2 separate regions of the Homo sapiens genome follow, and region 2 is linked to region 1. The links are contacts of gene promoters, found by promoter capture Hi-C in blood cells and fetal thymus (Javierre and others, 2016). All regions are on one chromosome and are shown on one strand. The core of a region is centred on a gene start or on the middle of the fragment in contact, and the rest is flanking DNA. Distances in the headings are between cores, read along the strand shown. Region 1 holds the start of C10orf53 (chromosome 10 open reading frame 53). Region 2 holds the start of SLC18A3 (solute carrier family 18 member A3).

The links. The method cuts DNA at HindIII sites, captures the fragments that hold promoters and counts their contacts. A CHiCAGO score of 5 or more calls a contact.
Region 2: the fragment with the promoter of SLC18A3 here is called in contact with the fragment with the promoter of C10orf53 in region 1 in 3 of 17 cell types (fetal thymus, total CD4 T cells and megakaryocytes); the score reaches 6.1 in fetal thymus.

What each region holds. Positions count from the first base shown.
Region 1 is chr10:49,676,364-49,683,287 of GRCh38, forward strand. C10orf53 (chromosome 10 open reading frame 53) reads left to right here and starts at 3,288. Exons shown (of 3, transcript NM_001042427.3): 1 at 3,288-3,431. The coding sequence starts at 3,335. The HindIII fragment of the contact is 5,886 bases long and covers 1-4,798 here.
Region 2 is chr10:49,605,444-49,612,367 of GRCh38, forward strand. SLC18A3 (solute carrier family 18 member A3) reads left to right here and starts at 4,867. Exons shown (of 1, transcript NM_003055.3): 1 at 4,867-6,924. The coding sequence starts at 5,298. The coding sequence ends at 6,896. It also overlaps a transcript of CHAT not described here. RefSeq lists a silencer at 1,540-1,834 and enhancers at 3,204-3,999, 4,000-4,794, 5,839-6,735, 6,736-6,924. The HindIII fragment of the contact is 17,270 bases long and covers 1-6,924 here.

The DNA.
Region 1 (6,924 bases), core at 2,038-4,537:
ACCACATGTACCCCACAAATAGATATATTATTTATCAACTAAAAACCTCATAGTAAAATGGAATTAGAAAAGATCTAACTTGGCCTGACAAAGAGAATCTACAAAAAACCCATACAACATACATCATACTAAAAGGGGAATGTTGGAAATGATTGGTTCCTATAAGAATCAAGTTAAAGGGAGAATATGTACTGTCATCACTTTTATTCATTGTTGCACTAGAGATTTTAATTGGTACAATAAAAAATAAAATAAAACTGGTCATTGTCTGCAGCCACTATGATTATTTACATAGAAAACCCCAAAGAATCTACAAATAAATTAATAGAAAGCATTAAAAAGGTCAAGGTGGCTTTTATAAAATCAGCACATAAAAGTCCATTTCATTTTACATACCAGCAACAAATAATAAAATCACAATTAAAAAGATGTTTACAATAGTGCCCAGGGATAAATCTAACAAAAGACATGAAAAATATGCAGATCATTACAAACATATTGAAAGACATTGGAGAAGATCGAAATAAAGGAGAGGTATTCCAAGTTCACAAATAGGAGGGCCTCAGAAAGAAGTCGGTTCACTCAAATTGATCTATAGATTCAATGCAACTTAAGTCAAACTCTCAACAAAACTTCTGCTTCCATATGGCAGGCTAGTTAATTTGAACTAGGCTTCTTGAAGATGAGATCTTTTAAAATCTGGCATATATCTTTTAAAAAAGCATAAAAGAGCTTACTGAATGAAAATTAGAGAGAGAGCAAGAGTAATTAAGCATAGCATTGGGGCTTCTCTTACCCCAGGGCTATCTAGTGCTCTTGAATAGGCGGTCTAGAGAATGACCTGCATTTTTTCAGTCCTTGCAGATGTAGAGGGTACAAGAACTGGAGTCCGGCACCACCAAGGATGGGGAAACCCTGATAAGTCACCACCCTCCTTAAGTTAGGATCCCAAAGGACTGCACCACAGGAATTAGGATTAAATATAAATCAACCAATCTCCAAATGGACTGTAGCCCAGTTTTGAGTCATCTGGATGGCTCAGAAAAATCTCAAACTCTGAAACTGTATGAAGATGATCCTGGGTTGGTACAAGTAGGAGTTAACAAGAAGTAAATTTTAAAATCTTCTATAGGGGAAGATACTATCTTAGGCCTCAAATTGTTTCTACAAATACTTTTTTAATACAATGTCCAGCACACAATTAAAATAAACCAGAACTCTAGGAGACAAGATAAAATGCGTAGAAACCAGCGGAAATAATAAACCGCAGGACAAACACATGGGTTCTCCAAACAATGGAATTCTCAAACACAGTCTATAAAATACCTATCTTTACTACAATGAAGGAGATAAAGCCAAACCTAAAACACTTGGGAAGAAACTGAAAGTGGCACAGCAGATTTGAAAAGAGAACAAACTAAAATTCTAGAATTGAAAAATATATAACTGGAATAAACAATCAAATTCCTGGCTTTTCTTCTCAGTTAAGAGCCAAAAAGAAAATTCGTAGACTGGATTACAGGTAAAAATGAATGAATGCATGCATACAAACGTGTATACATACAACCCCAAAAGAAGTATGGAAGAAGAAAAAAGAGAAAAGCACAGAGAAGACACATGCAGATTACAATGAGAAGGTCTAACATATACCTAGCTGGAGTCCCTGAGAATGAGAAAATGGAACAAAAGCAATATGTGAAGAAATAATGACTCAAACTTTTCCAAAAACTGATGAAGGACTTTAATTCAGTTTCAAGAATCTCAACAAATCCCAAGAGAGGTAAAATATACAGTAGCATACGTTGAGAGAATTAGTGGGAAAGGGTTTTTTAAATCCTTTACTGTTACAGTAAAACTACAGAAAGCAAGAGATAAAGAAACATAAGCGGTCTTGAAAACAGAAGAGTAACGGAAAACAACTATTCATACAAAACTTTTAGCAAAGTTAAAACAACGTTAAATTTCTAATTAATAAAAACACTACAGTGAGTAGAGGATTTTTGCCTTTAAAGACGTGTACAAAGTTTATAGAGAACCAGAAAATAAGTCCTTCTAAGACAAGACAGGTAACCACATAGAGCCAAGAGGATGAATAATGACATCATGTACAGTCCTGCCTTCCTCCATAGTCTGCTGGGTTCAGCTGTGTTGGTGAATTCAGTGGTTCTTGTCCGATGGTGCGAAACTCAAGTGCTGGGGGAAATTATGTATGACCCATAATAATGTCAAAATTCTGCTGATATCATTCCTCTATTTAACAATCGTGTATAAACTAATTCTCATCAAAGAAATATGTATCATAGAACATACTGTACACGTGGAGAGAATTAAAATACACAGTAGCATACGTTGGGAGAATTAGTGGGAAAGGGTTTTTAAAATCCTTTACTGTTCAAAAGGAGGGTAAAAATATCAACTACAATTGAATATTTAGAAAGTAAAGAAATGCTGTAATCGCAAGGGTATTGCGATTGTTAGGTTGGGCTAATTTCTGTAATAAACAACCCCCAAAATCTCAGTGGTTATGGAATAAATGTTTCCTTCTGGCTTCGGTCACCAACTAATGCAGATGGGTGGGGCTCTATTCGGCGCAGCTACTCAGTGGTCCAGGTTCCTCCCACGTTTTGGGTCTGTCTCCCCGGGAGCCTCGGGTCCTCCCTGGGATCCCGTATCTGGCTACCGATAAGAAGAGGGAGACAGCAGGTGTGGAGGAGACTTTTTAGGAGCCATGCCTAGAAGTGGTGGATGTCTTTTATGTCCAAATTCCAATGAGCAGAACTGAGCAAATAAAAGGGAATTGGACGAATTCAGTTTTGGCTCCACCAAATAGCCTAACTGGTGACAGAAGGGGCCGGGGGAAGAAGGTGGGGGAAGAAGAATGATGAACGAATACTCCCAATCAATCAAAAAGAGGCAAGAAAATAGAAGAAATGCAAGGGTTTCCAATCCATACTACACCCCTGTCACTCTTGGGACCGCAACTTGCCCTCCCAGAGCCTCGGTTTTGTAAACAAAAAACATAAAATACTTCCTAGGGATGGTAAACTGATTCAACCAGATAACGCAGGGAAAATGCTTCGCACGCCGCCTGACACGAACTTACTGTGCCTGGCTGCTGCTGTTATTTATCACTAACACTTGCCACACCAGCTCAAACGCGCGTATTTGCGGACCAGGCGCTGAGGGTCACGTGAGCAGCTTGGGGCCGGGAGGATCCCCTAGCGCCACCCCGGCCCCGCCCGGCGCGTAGCGACGCCCACGCGCCCGGGCCGGAAGAGAGGTTGCTTAGCAGCGTGTGTTTCTCCCTTGCCTCTGCGGCGGCGGAGGCCTGGCGATGCCCAAGAACGCAGTGGTCATCCTGCGCTATGGGCCCTACAGCGCGGCAGGCCTACCGGTGGAGCACCACACCTTCCGCCTGCAGGGCCTGCAAGGTGGGCCTCCTCGCCGCGTGCGCCCCTGAGGGCCCCAGCCTCTGAGCATCCGTGCAGGTGGTGCCCTGTGCCTAGGCCTTCCTCAGACCCCCACGAAGCGCCACCTCTCCAGGAAGTCTTCCCCAGGATGATGTTGCAACCTATGGCTTCCAGGGCTGGGCTAAAAGAGTGGGAAGGCTCTTCTATCCAAGAGTGAGCTGTGGGCCCACCCAGTGCCCAGCAAATTACAGAAATTACCTCCATAGAAAAAATTACATAACCCTGCTTTAAGAATTGGGAAACTGAGGATCAAGAATATTAAGTGACTTTCACAACTCAAATGGCTGGGAAGTAGCGTTGCTGGTATTCCATCTCTTAATCGTTCATGCAGCAGACTTTTATTAAGCACGCAGTGTGTGTTGGACACCCTTCCAGGGACTGAGGACACACTGTTAAACAGTGATGAATGTCCTTGAAGTAATCTCCTTGTTAACTGCTAAATGACAGCTGTGCCTAAGCTCTGACTGAGGCTAGGTGGTGCCATGGGAGCTAACCACAGTGGGACCTGTGACTAGCCATAATGGGAGGGGAGAGGGAGAGGTCTGGAAAGGCTCATTTAAGTGGAGCCTTAAATGAGCCCACATTTAAGTAGACCTTTAAAGAATGAGTAGAAACTAACCAGGTAAAGAGAGGAATGCCTTCCAGGCAGAGGGACTAATAATATAGGCAATGGCTGGAGGCATTCAATAAATGATGTATTAATATTTGTTAAACTGATGGGGGATGAGGCTGGAGAGGTAATCAGGCCAGATCCTGCAGTGCCGCAGATAAGTTTTAGGCAGGGGATGAAGCTGTTGCTGCTCTGAGGAGAACAGATTAGAGGGGGCAAGAGTGGAAACAAGGAAGACAAGTCTGTTGGGGTGGTCCAGGGCTGAGATGAGAGTAGCTTGGACCATAAAGGAGACCATGGATCAAAGTGAAAGCAATGGTACTTCCTGAGAGGATGGAGGTGGGAGGTAAGGGTAAAAAGAATGTTATCCGGATCTAATCAGTGTCTGACTTGAAACAGTGCTGATGGATGGATGTACTGTCCACTAAAATCAAAGACACCAAAGATGGACCAAAATTTGGAGGAATATGTGGAATCGTTCCAAAGGAACAGTCTATTTTGGTCATACAGATAGTCCCCAACTTAGACTTCTTGACTTTAGCATGGGTTTATTGGGAGGTAACCCTATCCTAAGTTGAGGCACATCTGAACCTACAATGGTTCCACTTAACGATTTTTCCACTTTATGATGGGCTTATCCAGGTATTAAGCCCACTTTCCACTTACAGTGGGCTCATTGGGACCTAGCCCCATCATAAGTCAAGGAGCATCTGAATTAAGCTTCATGTGCTTTCGGCTACCTAGACAGAGGTGCTGAATCAGCTCTGTTGTTCTGGAGTTCAGAGAAAAAGTCTGAAATGGAGATAGAAAGATGTGAGTCATTGACTTGGAGAGAACATATAGAATGAGATGAGAGCCCAGGAATGACCATTGATGAACTCCCATCCTATGACCCAAACTAAGAGTCTTCCAGGCAAAATACCCTGAAGCCTAAGGACACAAAAATTAGTTTTAGCTGAGCAATCAGGGAAAGCCTCCTGGAAGAGATGGCATTTGAGTTTGAGTTTGAAGGATGGGTAGGATTTCAATCAGCAGAGGAAGTTACTTTCTGTGAGAGAACAGTTGATAGAGAAATTTCTGTTGCAAATACCTCCATGTTTGTATTTGTCTATTGGGATTGCCAAAACAAAATACCATAGACTATGGGACTTAAACAATAGAAATATATTTTTTCAGTCTAAAGGCTAAAAGTCCCTGATCAAGGTCTGGCAAGGTCAGCTTCTGGTGAGGGCTCTGGGCGCTCTTCCTGGCTTGCTGACAGCCACCTTCTCTTTTGTCCTCACCTGGTGGGATTATATGGGGAGAGCGGGGAGCAAGCTCACTGGTGTCTCTTCTTATAAGAAGAAAGACACTAATCCTATCAGATTGGGTCCTCATCCTTATAACCTCATTTAACCTTAATTACCTCTTTAAGCACCTGTAGTCACATTGGGAGTTAGGGCTTCCATATATGAAGTTGGGGGAAGGGGGGCAACAATTCAATTCCTAGCAGTGTTGCATGGTGATGTTTAAAATGTTTTGTAGTTTTGGCTAAGAAGACAGCCTAAATAAGTGACTTTTCTCTTCCTCCCCCTCTGATGAGCCACACCTACCCACCCTCACCTCATAATCTACCTTTAGTTTATGTTCACTGTCTCTAAAAATAACGTGGGTAAAACATATATTTAAAATGTTGCCATTTTAACCATGTTAAGCATACAATTCAGTGACATTAATTATCTTTACAATGTTGTGGAACCATCACTATTCTCTCTTTTTAAAATTTTTCAACACCCCAGACAGAAACTGTATTCCTTAAGCAACAACACCCTATCCCTCTGTGTCCAGAATTTATTCCTTCTGGTGGGTTCATGGTCTCGCTGACTTCAAGAATGAAGCCAGGGACCTCGCGGTGAGTGTTACAGCTCTTAAAGGTGGTGCATCCAGAGTTGTTTGTTCCTCCTGGTGGGCTCGTGGTCTCGCTGACTTCAGGAATGAAGTTGCAGACCCTTGCAGTGAGTGTTACAGCTCTTAAAGGTGGTGCAGACCCAAAGTGAGCAGCAGCAAGATTTATTATGAAGAGTGAAAGAACAAATCTCCCAAAGCGTGGAGGGGGACAGGAGCCAGTTGCTGCTGCTGGCGCAGGGGGACAGGAGCCAGTTGCTGCTGCTGGCGCAGGTGGCCAGCTTTTATTCCCTTAGTTGGTCCCGCCCATGTCCTGCTGATTGGTCCATTTTACAGAGTGCTGATTGGCTCATTTTACAGAGTGCTGATTGGTGCATTTACAATCCTCTAGCTAGACACAGAGTGCTGATTGGTGCATTTACAATCCACTAGCTAGACAGAAAAGTTCTCCAAGTCCCCACCCGACCCAGAAGCCCAGCTGGCTTCACCTCTCACCTCCACCCCCAGCCCCTGGTAACCTGCAATCTACTTTGTAGCTTATTTCACTTAGCATAATATTTCAAGGTTTATCCATGCTACAGCATGTATTATACTACTTTATTCCTTTTTGTGGCAGATATGCCATATTTTGTTTATCTGTTTATCTGTTGATAGACACTTGGGTTGTTTCCACCTTTCCGCTACTGTGAATAGTGCTGTTATGAACACTGGTAAACAAATATCTGTTTGAATCCCTTTGTTTTAAGGGACTGAAATTGCTGAGTCATATGGTAATTCTATATTTAACTTTTTGAGGAATGACCAAACTGTTTTCCAAAGCAGCTGCACCATTTTACATTCCCACTAGCAATGCACAAGGATTTCAATTTTCTTTGGTTTTAATTACAGCCATCGCAGTAGGTGTGAAATGGTAGCTTGTGGTTTTCACTTAAATTTCCCTAATGATTGGTGATGTTGAAC
Region 2 (6,924 bases), core at 3,617-6,116, 69 kb before region 1:
ATTAACTGTCCCACTGTGGGGGAAGATGTAGGATCTGGGCTGGGGGCAGGCAGGGAGTGGTCTCAATGGAGGAGGGAAATGAATCTGAGACATTAATTGGATTGAGACGGAAAGAAAGTGGAGAGAACAGAAACCAAAGGGATTTGGAGGCCATGCTTCCAACGAATGATTCATAGTTAGTGTCAGGGAGCCAGAAAAAAAGCAAGTGAGCAAGGTCCTGTCCCTGGGAGCTGTAGAGAGGAGCCCTGGGGCCCACCCACAAAGCAGCACCTGCAGTCTCTTTCCCTCTCGAAGCCCAGCTATGTTGTGCACAAAGCAAGTCTGGGCACCGAGGACAGGCTGGCCAAGGGCAGGCAGGCAGGCACGTAGTCCTCTGGCTTCCAGCCACCACACTCACAGGTTTCTGGGAAAGGCTGACTGGGGCCACTTTGTTCCTTTGAATCTGAGAATATATGACTGGGGAAGCCTAAATTAATTAAATGATGCTGAGGCCCGCCTGAGCCGGTGCACAGGGGATGGGTTATGGAGCCCTGAGCAAACTGCACCCCTAGCCCCCAGTGCTGGAATCCAGAGAGGCTCATGAGCTCGATTGGAACGAAGCCTGTGCTTAAGTGCTTCCAGAGAGACAAAGAAATAATAAATCAGGAGCAGGTGCCCCACCCACACACTGCCATCACCAACACCAGCCTGCTTCTCCACAGAAATACAGTGGTTTCACCTCTCTGGAACCAGATGTTTCAGGGAAGCAACAAATGGCAAAGCCCTGGAAATGACATGGCCCCACAACCTTCTCAGAAATGAGGCCAGGCTGGGCTGGCACCTCCATCCACAGCAGCACCCCACCACCACAACCCACCCAAGACCTCCAAACACCCCCTAGACCTCACCCAGGCACTGGTGCAGCATGGCTATCCTTCCACCCCTCCCAAACTCCCACACACCAGGACTCCCCCATCCCCAGCAAGCCCCCCTCCCCTGACAGGGCACTGATCCAGCAAGGAAGAAATTTTAGTCCATCAGACTGTGGACACAGTTGTATCTTGTGGATAAAATGAGAAGAAGTGTTGTCAGCTAGAAATCACCAATTTGTCTCTATCCATATAAAATAATAACAATTAAACTCCTACTAGGTATCAAGCATTGGGCTAGACATGTTCAAGTGAGCTATCTCGCAGTCTTTAGCCATCCTGCAGCAGGGCCACATGGTGGCTGGGAGCAGGAAGCTGGAACTAAATCACCTGCATGGGAATCCCATCTTTACCACTTGTGAGCTCTCTGACTGAATACATTACTTTACCTAAGTGTCTTTGCCTATAAGAAAGTAATATGAAGGTTGGTGAGAGAATTCAATGAGTTAGTGCTTATCAAATGCTTAGAACGGTGCCTGATGCCTTATAAGCTCTACTATGTGTCTAGTAAATACGTTCCTTCCTTCCTCTACTCATTCAACTTTAATTGAGTACCAGATATGAACGCTGCCCTAACAGCTGCTATTTCTGGTTGAGAAAGGAGAGAAAAATGCTTCCGTTTTCTCCTACAGGATTGGACAGGAAGTTCTCTGTTGCCTGCAAGTTATGCTCAGATAGAGGAGTCCGGAAAGGAATTTACCAAGCGTTCAAGTGAAGAGGAAGCCAGAGGGGCGGGGCCTCCGTGGGAGGCTTCTTGGTTGCGGTGGGGCCGGGGCCAGCACCCTGGACAGCTCCCGGCGGCTGGCGGGGAGAAGAGGCTTTGCCAGGTCCCATCTCGGCTCAGACCCTCCCGTAGCCTTTTGCTGCAGGGGCCTGACGCCTCCTTGCAACCCCGGCACTCCCGTATTTGGAGCCACGATGGATTGGGGGGGCGTTGCCCTCTGATCTGAAAGTTAGAGAATGAGGGAGTTTAGTGTCTTTGGAGCCTCCTTAGGGAGCCAGCCCAGGACCTTCCTCCTCCCATGGGTCTTGATCTGCTCCTCACCCCTACACTGCCAGCGTGCGGCCACCTTGGAGATGGAGCAGCAGGAGCACGACGCCGTGCCGGGAATAGGGAAGCAGTGTGAGGACCACAAGACAGGTCCCCCAGCCTGGGTTTAATTCCAGGATCTGCTGCTGGGAGCTTGGGCAAGCACCCAGCATCTCCACGCCCAGCTTCCTCACCTGATAAGACCAGGGGAATAGCACCTACACTGCACCAGGATTGCAGGAGAATGGAGTAAAACAGCACACACAATACTCCTGGCACAAAGCAAGTAATAAATGAGTGTGCCTCCTGCCATACAGGAACCGAGGACTGGAGAGCTAGTCATGAGCCCAGAGATACCTGGCTTCATGCTCAGGAACAGCCATGTGGGCCAGAGGGCTGGAGATGTGGTCTGCACCTTGAAGGCCCTGGGAAAGTTCCTGTCCTCTATGATTCCTCTGTTCTTCAGCCACTAGACATAAAAAAAAATTGTCCTTCAAGTCCTCCTTCCTCCTTTCTTTAATCAGACAGGGGAAATAGCATGTGCATAAATAATAATTGTTTTGTAGGCTGGGAGACTGCCCCTTTAAGAGCCTCATAATGGGAGAGTCAGAAGAGCCCAGAGGTCTCAAACGGAAATGACTGGAGAACCAGCAAGTGGCATAAGTGTGTGAAGTCAGCTGGGGCGAGATTGGGATGTGCTGGAGAGTGTGCATGTACTGACGAAAGGCCATCAAATACAATTTAAAATAATTAGCCCACTCCAAAGAGTCTTCTGCAGCACGCACTTCTGCTAAGGGCTGCAGTGAGTGGGCTCTCACCTCAACCTGAACCAGACGGAGGCTGAGGCTGGGCCCCACTGAGGGGCTGTGACTTGCCCAAGGTCATCCAGGGCCAGGCCTGTGCCCACATTGGGACTCTTTTCCTCCCTCAGACAGAGGGCACTTCAGTCACTGCAGAGCAGGTGGCAGCAGCCCTTCAGTGGATGAGTTTCTCCTTTCCCAGGGTGACTGGGTGGGTGAAGGAATTGAGCAACAGGTGGCCAGGCTGCCGCCTCTCACCCTGACACATTGGTCCCCATCCCCTCATCCTACAGCCATCTCAGGGACAGATGGAGACATTCCAATGCCCTCCGGGTCCTCCACCAACCCAGACAGAGCCTGGAGTCACAATGCCCACCTAGCCAGAGGGATCAGCCAGCTAGCCAAGTGCCCCCTGTGTCTTTCATCTGTTCTTCACAAGACCCACAAGTGAAAAATGAGGATAAACCGCACATTCTACACACGATAACAACATAGCAAGTCCTTATACTGCTCTTACTGTGTGCCCGGCCCCCTTAGCAGTAGGTACTATTATTATTCAATTTTACAAAGAAACTAACTGAGGGACAGAGAGGCAAAGTAATTCCCTGCAGGTACTCTAATGAGTACGTGGCAGAGCTGGGAGCCATCCTGGTTGTCTGCCTCGAAAGACCACACTCTTTGCACTGCATCGCGGCACTTCCTGCGGGGTGGGGGGCACAATGGGAGAAGCATCTGCGTCTAATGCTGCTTTACTTTTGAGGCCAGAAAAATGGGAAGGCTCCCCTCTGACTCTGGAAGAGAGACGCAAACCGTAATCTCAACAACACAATCCCCACCTCCAACCTCAGCCGCCCTGGAGCCTCTCTCCCGCCAGTCCGCCCACTGGAACACGGGTTCCATGTGCCATCCAGGGTCAACGCCGCTCTGGGGACGCGTCAGGCCCAGCGCACAGCCTGGGCAGCTCAGCCTGTCAGCTGAGCACGGGCGCCTCAAGGGGTGCGGCCCTCTCAGAAGGAAGGTGAGTCTCCCTGGAGCCCCTGACGACAGCGAAGCGGCTGGGCGCTCTCCGGGGAGTGGGCGCGGCACCCAAGAAGGGTTTCTTACAGTTCCAAGAGAGGACCCCAGCCACAGTCACTCCAGAGCCCACCCGGGGCTTGGAGGAGGCTCTGGAAAATGAGGGATGGGGGAGTGTGCAGAACAGGGGGCGGAGGCTGGCAGGAGCCGAGGGAGGGCTTGGTCGGGTGCGAAGAGTGCCTGGGAGGAGTTAGAGTGGGGAGGGGGTGCGGCGGCGGGGAGAGAAGAGGCGGAGCTGGGGGACCAGACCGCTAAAGGAGAAAGGGGGATTCCAGGCAAGGGGAATGTGGCCAGGCAGTGCGGGAGGGCGGCAGCGGCCAGGCTAATATTCGCGACCCCGACTGGGGCGCGGCAACTTCTGCCCTCAGTCCCCACAAGCTCCCGGCCGCGATTCGCGGCCGAGAAATTCTGCGGAGGGGCCGGTGGGTCAGAGCCAGGCCAGGCAGTTGCTGAGCCTTCCCCTCCCCTCCTGGCGGGAGTGTGTGTGCAAGGGGCCAGGGGGCGGAGTCGGAGAAAGGGTTGGGGGTGTCCGTGTCCAGCGCTCCTCCGGACGCGGCTCCACAATCCAGCTGCGAGAACAGATGGACGCAGCGGCGGCTCACCTCGGGGGCTTCCTGCTCGCTGTGCGCCGAGGTCCAGGCTGAAGCGGAGATCGCAAGCCTCTGGCTCCCGCCTCTCCCAAGGGGCCTCGAGGAACCGGCTGCCGCGCCCCCTTCCCCAAGAGGAGAAGAGCGGGCGCTGACCCCGCGAGTCCTAGAACCGCGGGCGGGGGGCAGGCAGGGGGCGGGGGGCAGAGGGCCAGCTACCGGCGCGGAACGCCCATCCCAGGGGCTGGTTCAAGACTTCCACACCGAGAGCCCTTCCTGGGCCTCCAGCCCTGGAGCATCTGGAGAGCGGACCCCTGCCCGGCCACGCCCCGCCCCCGGCCCCCGCCCCGCCGACGTCGCATTAGCATGAGCGACGTAAGTGGCCCGGGCACCACTCGGGGGCTGGGACTCGCCGCGTCACAGCCCCGAGTGGAAGGGAAAAAAAAAGAGGAGGCGGCGGAGGAGGCAAGAGCCGACGCGAGGGGAGGGGAGCGCAGCGGCGGGGCTAACGGGCGGGCAAGCGGGCGGGCGGCAACAGCATGTCCCTCGGCCAGCGCGGGCGGCCTCTTAGCGCGGCGGGGGCTGCTCTGGGCGCGCCCCGGGCGAAGTGCGCCCAGTCTCCGGCCCCGGCCCCTCGGCGCGCCCGACTTCCCGGCCGCCCCTGAGCCCAGCAGCCGCGGGTCCCGGGATCGGCTAAGAGTAGCTGCAACGCCTCGCCGGACGGAGTCCTTTCCTTTCCCGGGACGCTGGGCCATGAGCTCCGCGGCCACCTGAGGCACAGGGGAGTCTGCTCGGCCAGGACAGCCTCCCCGAAGTCCCGTGCCCTCGCCTCTGCACTGCGGGACGCCAGCGCTCGGCCCTGGCGGAGGCGTCCTCGGAAGAGCATCGGGGTGGGGGCATGGAATCCGCGGAACCTGCGGGCCAGGCCCGGGCGGCGGCCACCAAGCTGTCGGAGGCTGTGGGCGCGGCGCTGCAGGAGCCCCGGCGGCAGAGGCGCCTGGTGCTTGTTATCGTGTGCGTGGCGCTGTTACTGGACAACATGCTGTACATGGTCATCGTGCCCATAGTGCCCGACTACATCGCCCACATGCGCGGGGGCGGCGAGGGCCCCACCCGGACTCCCGAGGTGTGGGAGCCCACCCTGCCGCTGCCCACTCCGGCCAATGCCAGCGCCTACACGGCCAACACCTCGGCGTCCCCGACAGCTGCGTGGCCAGCGGGCTCAGCCCTTCGGCCCCGCTACCCTACGGAGAGCGAAGACGTGAAGATCGGGGTGCTGTTTGCTTCCAAGGCTATCCTGCAGCTGCTAGTGAACCCCTTGAGCGGGCCCTTCATCGACCGCATGAGCTACGACGTGCCGCTGCTGATCGGCCTGGGCGTCATGTTCGCCTCTACAGTCCTGTTCGCCTTCGCCGAGGACTACGCCACGCTGTTCGCGGCGCGCAGCCTGCAGGGCCTGGGCTCAGCCTTCGCCGACACGTCTGGCATAGCCATGATCGCCGATAAGTACCCGGAGGAGCCGGAGCGCAGTCGTGCACTGGGCGTGGCGCTGGCCTTCATTAGCTTCGGAAGCCTAGTGGCCCCGCCCTTCGGGGGCATCCTCTATGAGTTCGCCGGCAAGCGCGTGCCCTTCTTGGTGCTAGCTGCCGTGTCGCTCTTTGACGCGCTGTTGCTGCTGGCAGTGGCCAAACCCTTCTCGGCGGCTGCACGGGCTCGGGCCAACCTGCCAGTGGGCACTCCCATCCACCGCCTCATGCTAGACCCCTACATTGCCGTGGTGGCCGGCGCGCTCACCACCTGTAACATTCCCCTCGCCTTCCTCGAACCCACCATTGCCACGTGGATGAAGCATACGATGGCGGCTTCCGAGTGGGAGATGGGCATGGCCTGGCTGCCGGCCTTCGTGCCTCATGTGCTGGGCGTCTACCTCACCGTGCGCCTGGCGGCGCGCTACCCACACCTGCAGTGGCTGTACGGCGCGCTTGGGCTGGCTGTGATCGGCGCCAGCTCGTGCATCGTGCCCGCCTGCCGCTCCTTCGCGCCGCTAGTGGTCTCACTATGCGGCCTCTGTTTTGGCATAGCCCTAGTCGACACAGCACTGCTGCCCACGCTCGCCTTCCTGGTGGACGTGCGCCATGTCTCAGTCTATGGCAGCGTCTACGCCATCGCCGACATCTCCTATTCGGTGGCCTACGCGCTCGGGCCCATAGTGGCAGGCCACATTGTGCACTCGCTGGGCTTTGAGCAGCTCAGCCTTGGCATGGGACTGGCCAACCTGCTCTATGCTCCCGTCTTGCTGCTGCTCCGCAACGTGGGCCTCCTGACGCGCTCCCGTTCCGAGCGCGATGTGCTGCTTGATGAGCCACCGCAAGGTCTGTACGATGCGGTGCGCCTGCGTGAGCGTCCTGTGTCTGGCCAGGACGGCGAGCCTCGCAGCCCGCCTGGCCCTTTTGATGCGTGCGAGGACGACTACAACTACTACTACACCCGCAGCTAGCATCCCCACTCCTCCTCCAGCCCACCCA